Regions from separate parts of the Homo sapiens genome. Here region 2 is linked to region 1. Evidence: promoter capture Hi-C in human tissues and cell types (Jung and others, 2019). All regions are on one chromosome and are shown on one strand. Each heading gives the region's core, a stretch centred on a gene start or on the middle of the fragment in contact. The rest is flanking DNA. Distances are from core to core; before and after follow the strand shown. Region 1 holds the start of CCDC88C (coiled-coil domain containing 88C). Region 2 holds the start of FBLN5 (fibulin 5).

Region 1 (3,897 bases), core at 979-3,478:
TGGAGGCTGAGGCAGGAGAATGGCGCGAACCCGGGAGGCGGAGTTGCAGTGAGCAGAGAGCACGCCACTGCACTCCAGCCTGGGCAACAGAGTGAGACTCTGTTGTCTCAAAAAAAAAAAAAAAAAAAAAAAAGAGAAAAGAAAAAAAGATTTTTATTTCAGATAAAATTAATATTTCCATAATTAGGATACACACATAATTAGCAAACACACATTCTTGAGTCCATTATTTAAGGTTTATTCTATAAACGACTTCCATGAGTATTAGAGATCCTGAATGTCATCTGAATATTTGTCTACACACTTGTGGGCAGCTTCTGTAGACTTTTCTTTGTAGAAATTCCAGTTTTTCTGAATTCTTCCTTTTCCTTCAGGTTTTCCACTTTGCATTATTCATAAAAGGCTGGGTCATTATAGTGAGCTGTTAAGACATTCTTTCAATGCAGAATTTTCTTTCCAGCATTTTACTACCATAAGGATTCCAGAGTTCTTGCAACATTTGGTAAAATCTTGAACTTGTCAGAAGACCTCTCTCTGGCCTTTTCTCTCATTATTTTAGGGATCAAAACATCTTTTTCGACACGTCTGAGCTGCTGCTCCAAAAACCTGTAGTGTCTTCCCATTGTTTTTGGTATAAAAATCAAACTCCTTGAAATGGTTTACAGGACATTTCATGATTCACAACTGAAACTCCTCCACAGCGATGGCACACACTCCTCTTTGATCTCAATTCTTCTTTCTTGTGGTCTTTGCTTAAACCACTGTTCTTTAAATTTCACAGAGCAACCATCAGAGTTGTTAAATTAATCCGCGGGGTCGAGTGCCATCGCGGCGGGCGGAGAAGCAATTAAGGAACTTCTCTAATGAACTTCTGGTGCACAACAAAACCATGTAGTCTCGAAATTTTAGTTCCTCCGCAGTCCCCCATTGTGTTTTATGCTACCCCGCCTTCCACAGTCTCTAGGGACCCCTAACCGACCCCCTTGGCTCTCAGGCCATAATCTCACAACCCTCCCCAGCCCAACGGGGTCCGCCAGCGCTGGGCTGTAATACCACTCGCCACCAGCAGATGCCGCAGCCCCAACGCTGCACAGAGCCAACTTTCAAAATTACCACCGAGCCTGTCGGCAGCCATTTAGTGCCTGCTGTATACTTGCCAAGCGCCACGCAGGGCCCTTCGGGTCAACCCTGTACCAGTTGGCCCAGCTGCGAAATGCGGCGATCGTTAGGGTTAAATTAGTAAAATGGTCTACAGTGCTTTGAACAATGACCGGCTGGTGGTGTGAAATTATTACCAGGCCGAGACCAGCCTGGAGCCGGCTCCTGCCTCGTGCCGTCCCGCAAGGAGGTCCTGCCCCCGGGCTTGCCTTCCAGCCAGTTGGGGCCTTTGCCCTTTTTCCTGTCGCCTGCCACTAAGCTGCTGCTAGGAACCCCGGCTGGAATTTAGCTCGCCTCCGGCAAAGTGGTGGGGGCGGGCCCGGGTCGGGGAGGCCACATCACCTGCTTCCTGCAGGAACTTTTAGAAGGCAGGCAGCCCGGAACATGGCACGGTGGGGCACGGTAGGGCGCGAGGGGCCGCGCCCCTAAGGCCTAAACTCAACATAAAGTTTCTTCTTTGCCCTCCAGCCCAGCCCCAGGGTCGGGGCGCGTTTATCGCGCCGCGCACAAGCGTGAGGAGCGGGGGTTTGCGGGGCCTCTTGACTGTACCTGGGGCTGCACCTGCCAGGAGTGCGGAAAGGCGCAGGGCCGAGGTCCCCAAGCCCAGAGCGGGCGGCAGCTGCGGGCGACCTCGGAGGGCAGAGCAACCTCGGAGGGCAGGGCGTCCCCGCTCCCGGCACGCACCAGTGCCCGCGCACCCCAGCTCGCACGTGGCGCTCGGGCCCCGGCTGCACGCGCACGCGCGCAGGGATGCGCCACGTGCTGGGGCCCCACACGCGGGGAGGCTGCGCTCGGCGAGGGCGCGCGGTCCCACGGGCGGGGAGCCGGGCCCCGCGACCCACCCGCCTCGGGCCACCAGTCCCCTCCCAGCGCCCCGCGTAGCCTGGTCCCGCGCCCGGGCTCCCGGGCTCCCGGGCTGGCACCGCGAGGCGGCGCGCCGGTCGCCCAGGGCCGCCGAGGGGCGGGGCCGCCCGTATTGTTCCTCCCCGAGCGGCTGGCCCTCCCCTTCCCCCAGACCCGGGCGGGGCGCGGGGCCGCCGAAGCCGCGGAACGTGGGCTCGCGCGCCCCGCCTTTGTCTCCCGGGCGCGAGCCGCCGCAGCCCCGCGCCCGCTGCTCGCTGCGGAGCCGTTTTGTGCCGCGGCGCGGGGGAACGGGGACGCGGGGCGGGGGGCGCGGAGCCGGCGGGCGCAGCCTCAGCATGGACGTGACAGTCTCGGAGCTCCTGGAGCTCTTCCTGCAGAGCCCGCTGGTGACCTGGGTGAGTGCGCCTGGCTCCCCGCCCCTTTGTTGGTGCACCGGCTTCTCTCTAGCCCGGCGACGGGACGCCGCAGACCCGACACGGCCGGGGCCCCGGGTGGCTCCGGGGCGCGAGGGACGCAGCAAGTGGCTCCCGGCCGGGGTTGGGGCCGCGTCCTGGAGTCCGGAGCTTTGTAACTCTGGAGCCGGCGCCCCCGTTGTGCGTCCGGCGCGGGACCCCGCCGCGCTTTCGGCCGGGCCAGGAGCCGGGCGGGTACACCTGTTCCCGCTGGGGCTCTAGGCTGGCTGCCTCGGGGCGGACCGGGTCCCAGTGGTCACTCCTGTCCCTGGGGTTTAGCCACTCCCGAAAAGGACCCCATTCTTCCCAACCAAATATCTCATGTAGTTTTTCTGAATCCCTGAGACCAGCCGGTGGATGGCGGTGACGGGTGGGGAATGGGGGGCGCCGAATGGGAAAGCGAACAGACTGGGGTGGGCGCACTGATTTACAATGGATTTGAGACGTGAGACATTTATTGAAAAGTCCTTTTTATTTTTATTTCTTCCGCTCTGGAACGCGGGAGAAAAGTGGCGAGGAAGTTTTTCCTCCTGTCTCGTGTCTGTTGCCCCGCGCGGGGAGGGGAGACAGGCCCTAGGAGAAGGCCGGGCTTGGTGCCTGCTGAAGGGTGGTGTGGGCGTGGGTGACCCCCTTCTGCTCACACTGACCCGTCCAGTCTCTGCCTGGGAGAGCTTTGGACCGTTTGTGCGCACGGGGTGACTTCCTGTCTTTCTCTCCTCGTCCCCCTCCCCGCAGGTGAAAACTTTTGGCCCGTTTGGAAGCGGCAGCCAGGACAACCTGACTATGTACATGGATTTAGTGGACGGCATCTTTTTGAACCAAATTATGCTGCAAATGTAAGTTACCTTCTTCTCGGAGGAAGGAAAGAATGGTGCGTTAGAAAGTTTGAGAGTAGAAATGGAGTGGAAGGTTGCATGGCGGGGTGTGTGTGGGGTGGGGGGTAGTTCTCTGAAGGTGGAGACGCTGGTATCTCAGTATTAACGTGCCTGTTGGACATTCGTAGGTGTTTGAAGAACTCCAGGACAGTGGGTCTGGCAGTTGGTTTGATGAAGGAAATTTGGAATTGAATGACTGTCATTTACGTGGTGTAGATAGTGCAATTGACTTCAGACTCAAGGACTTAATTGTGGTTTGAGCAATGAAATGAAAAAGTCCCCTTTTGGAGGGCAAGGAACTGTAACGGAGAGTGTCTGGTTACAGGAAGTGTCGGGGTGGGCCCAGGCATCCGAGGGTTACTGTAAAGTTTCATTTTAGATGAGGGTGTCTGTGTTTCTGAGCTCCTTTACATTTCATCTTCCTTTTTCAGTTGCCCCAAAGCAAGTGCAATTCATTAAGTCCTACTGTATGGACTGAGTTTAAAGTCACAGTGTTAGGAGGGTCCCATGGTGCTGTTTGTTTGGAAGCATGCAGCCTGAACAGGGTC
Region 2 (3,897 bases), core at 633-3,132, 530 kb before region 1:
GAGAGAGTGAGACTCCATCTCAAAAAAAGGAACCCTAGTCTCCCTCTCTCCATCATGTGAGGACATAGCAAGAAGACAGTCATCTGCAACCAGGAGAGGACCCTCATGAGAACCTGGCTATGCCCACACCCTGATCTCAGACTTCCAGCCTCCAGAACTGGGAGAGATAAATGTTATTGCATAAACCACCCAGTCTATGGTATTCTGTTATAGCAGCCTGAGCTAAGACCAATAATACTCATGGTTTCTTGTGCATCCTTCAGGTGATGTCTTTTCTGTACGTGTACAAGCAAGAACTTATGTATTTATTTTTTTTCCCACAAATGATGGCATGCTTTACACACAGTTCTGCAGCTTACTTTTTACATTTATTACTATATTAGATCAATCTATGTGAAATTACCAATATTCTACTGTTTTGACCCACAAAATATATTGGAAACCCTTCAATAGCAGTGCATACGGAGCTGTTTCAGTCTTTTTTTCAAAATAAGATATAACATACATAAGACTTCACAAATATTAAATGTACACACCCCTACATAACCAGCATCCAGATCAATCATTAGATTATTACCAGCACCCAGAAGGGGCTGGGCTGCCTCCCAGTCACTATCTGACTTTGAATTTTATATAAATGGAGTCGTTTGATGTGGACTCTTAAGTGTCTAGGTTTTAATTGGTTGCACAATAGTCCCTTTGGAAGCCCCTTACTTTATTTAACCCTATTGGTGCCTTGCTGATCGACCTTAAAGGTGTTTATAATCTTTTGCTTTTACAAACAATGGGGGGATGAACAACCTTATAAACATAAGGTATTTAAAAAAGTGTTTTACAGGAAATTTCAAACACGTAAAAGGAAATAGATTAGACTAGTATAATGGACACAGCTTCAACAACTATCCACATTCTGTTATTCTCCTTTGGGTAGAATTCCATTTACTTACCCCCAAAAATGCCTTAGGGAAGGCTAAATATGTAGACTCCAGAGGCTCAGCTGTACCAATGAATAGCTGCGTGACTATGGGGAGGTTACCTAACCTCTCTTATCTTCACCTCTAATAACATGGAGATGATCATTCCTACTGCTTAGAGTGGTGGTGAGGACAGGGGACCTGGATCAGGGCTTTTCGGCTGCAGGTAGGAAGATGCAGGTGGAAGCAGATGGGATAGGCCACAGTCCATCCACTGGCGTTTTATAGAGTGAGTGCCTTCTGTAAGATTTCATTGACAAAAGTACTCCAATGGCTTAAAAACAAACAAACAAACAAACAAACAAACAGGAAAAAGAAACAGGTTGAAGCCTCCACTAGAATGAATGCAAAGGACTCAGCATGTCTTATGTGCTGTCTCCACCATTCTGCTTTTCCAGACTGTCCCTTCTTCAAATCACCGTTTAACTTGTTAAAATCACTTTCGAGCCAGGGGACACTTTTCCAGGAAAGCGAGAAAATGCCAGGGAGAATCGGGGAATGAGGGCGGGGAGAGAAAAGCGTCCTAAGACTTGCATTGCACAAGCTGAAGTCTGGAATTCGCACCAGCGGGATTCCATCCTCTTCCCCCCCACCCCACCCCGCTGCTCCCCACCCCTTCTTCGGGAAGATCGCGACTCTCCCGTCGCTCGCCCCAAGCCTCTGCTTCGTAGGTTCTGGTTTCCCAATCGATCGTGAGTTTCTAGTCCCTGGAGCTGCGTGGGTCGTGAGTTCAAGTCCCTTTCCTTCCGGAGGCGACAACGTTCTCGCGGGTCCCCTTGCCACGCAGCGCGGGCGTGCACGCCCCTCCCCGCCGGGCCGCGCTGCCAGCCCCGCCCCGCCCCTGGGTGGGAAGGTCAAGGGGCCCGGGCCCTCCCAGCCCCCGCACCCCTGCGCGCGCCCGCCCCTCGCCTTCTGCCCGGGCGCTCGCAGCCGAGCGCGGCCGGGGAAGGGCTCTCCTCCCAGCGCCGAGCACTGGGCCCTGGCAGACGCCCCAAGATTGTTGTGAGGAGTCTAGCCAGTTGGTGAGCGCTGTAATCTGAACCAGCTGTGTCCAGACTGAGGCCCCATTTGCATTGTTTAACATACTTAGAAAATGAAGTGTTCATTTTTAACATTCCTCCTCCAATTGGTTTAATGCTGAATTACTGAAGAGGGCTAAGCAAAACCAGGTGCTTGCGCTGAGGGCTCTGCAGTGGCTGGGAGGACCCCGGCGCTCTCCCCGTGTCCTCTCCACGACTCGCTCGGCCCCTCTGGAATAAAACACCCGCGAGCCCCGAGGGCCCAGAGGAGGCCGACGTGCCCGAGCTCCTCCGGGGGTCCCGCCCGCGAGCTTTCTTCTCGCCTTCGCATCTCCTCCTCGCGCGTCTTGGACATGCCAGGAATAAAAAGGTGGGTTCTCGGCGCTGGACTTTTCTTTCTCCAGGGTCTGGAAGCCTTGCTAAAAATCCGATGGGTGGAAAATGGTTATGGCTGCGATTCAGGCGGTGTCAGGATATTGGAAAAGGCATGAGCTAGTGATGCAATGATATTGTTAATTATAAAAAGCTGCGCCTCTGTAATTTCCATCTTGAAGCGTTCTTTTGGGAGTGGGTATTTTCTAATACAGTTTCAAAAGCCAGCATCAGAGAGGGCTGCGAAATTCTCAGCGCTTCATTCCTCTTTCTTTTCTGGAAAGGGCAGCAACTTTGTCGTTTTAAGGGATTTTTGTATGTATTTTTTAAATTTCGGGAGGCCAATTACTAGTTCACTAGCAATTACTGCGCCGCATCGGCTGATAGACAAGCAGACAGGCTAGCTGAACACCGCGGGGCTGGATTTGCTCTATGTTTGTGTGGGATTCTCACAGAAGTTTCAAGCCAATGAGAAGTGGGAACTGCAGACAGAGATACATGTAAGCAAATGTTTTGCTATTCTTTAAGGAAATTGCAATTACAGTTAAGTAATCCTTAAGTCTTGGAGAACTTTACCTAAATGACACCCACAGTCTTTATTCAGCGAGCTCTTGAAAACATACTGCTTTGAACAAATTAACCTTGTGTGCGTATGTATGTGTCTGTGGGGTGTGTGTGTGTGTGTGTGTGTGCTGAAAACTAAGCTGTAACAATGTCATCCTGGATTGGGGACCAGCACTTCTGTGACAGGCAGTCCTGGTATTTGGTTGGTCTCTCCGGCTTTCCTTGTGTTTCAGGCTGAGGCACAACACCGGCGAACCCACCTGCTTTAGAAAGTTCCCAGGACCGGTTATGAGCACCAACCTGCCTCCCCCCAGCTATTCTTATAGTTAGTTCATTTTTGGAGTTTCCAGGGTTTTTTTTTTTTAATCACAAGGTGCAGCTATTCGTGATGCTGTGAGGCAGTAGTGCTTGGGTATTCTTTCATTTTAGGAAAATCCTATTAGCCTGGAACCTGTTTGGCCCCCAGGACTCAGCTGTGGCTCTTCCAAGAGGCTGGGCTTGAGGCAAGACCTGTCCCAGGGCTGCCTCTAGCCAAAGGGAATGGGGCTGCGGGGAGTAGGGGGAAAGATGGGGTTAGCATGCCTTTTCAACTAGCTCTTGAAGTCCACTGTGTTGCAGTCAGCCTGTTCTTTCTCCAACATAAACGAGACAGGGTTTTATAACCAACTGAAAGGAAACTTCATGTGAAGAAACAGGAAAACATTGAAATTCATAATACACAGACTGGAAAATAAATTTGTTATTGTTCTTTCATTCCTTCCAGATATAAATCTGGCCATGGCAAATATCAAAAAGCCCTGGGATTTGGCTCTGCACTTTATAAGGTCAGAGCTGTCTCCAGCGTTCTAGAATCTGGCTCACCCAGGCACTTACATGAAAACTTGTGGACTCTCAGCGTCCTTATTTTTTGGATTGGGGACTCGATAAAGGAAATGGCCTCGCATCTCCTAAGATCGTATCAGGGCCCT

The links. The method cuts DNA at HindIII sites, captures the fragments that hold promoters and counts their contacts. A contact is called where the count stands out against the background at its distance.
Region 2: the fragment with the promoter of FBLN5 here is called in contact with the fragment with the promoter of CCDC88C in region 1 in 2 of the 25 tissues and cell types used here (mesendoderm cells and pancreas).

The regions. Positions count from the first base shown.
Region 1 is chr14:91,416,151-91,420,047 of GRCh38, reverse strand. CCDC88C (coiled-coil domain containing 88C) reads left to right here and starts at 2,228. Exons shown (of 30, transcript NM_001080414.4): 1 at 2,228-2,417; 2 at 3,210-3,310. The coding sequence starts at 2,358. CCDC88C-DT (CCDC88C divergent transcript) reads right to left here and starts at 1,802. Exons shown (of 3, transcript NR_184261.1): 1 at 1,708-1,802. It also overlaps the pseudogene LOC112268126. RefSeq lists enhancers at 813-862, 1,103-1,747, 3,353-3,642, 3,653-3,782 and a silencer at 1,813-2,732. The HindIII fragment of the contact is 13,115 bases long and covers 1-3,897 here.
Region 2 is chr14:91,945,679-91,949,575 of GRCh38, reverse strand. It overlaps FBLN5 (fibulin 5), which reads left to right and starts at 1,882. Exons shown (of 11, transcript NM_006329.4): 1 at 1,882-2,363. The coding sequence starts at 2,347. The HindIII fragment of the contact is 12,789 bases long and covers 1-3,897 here.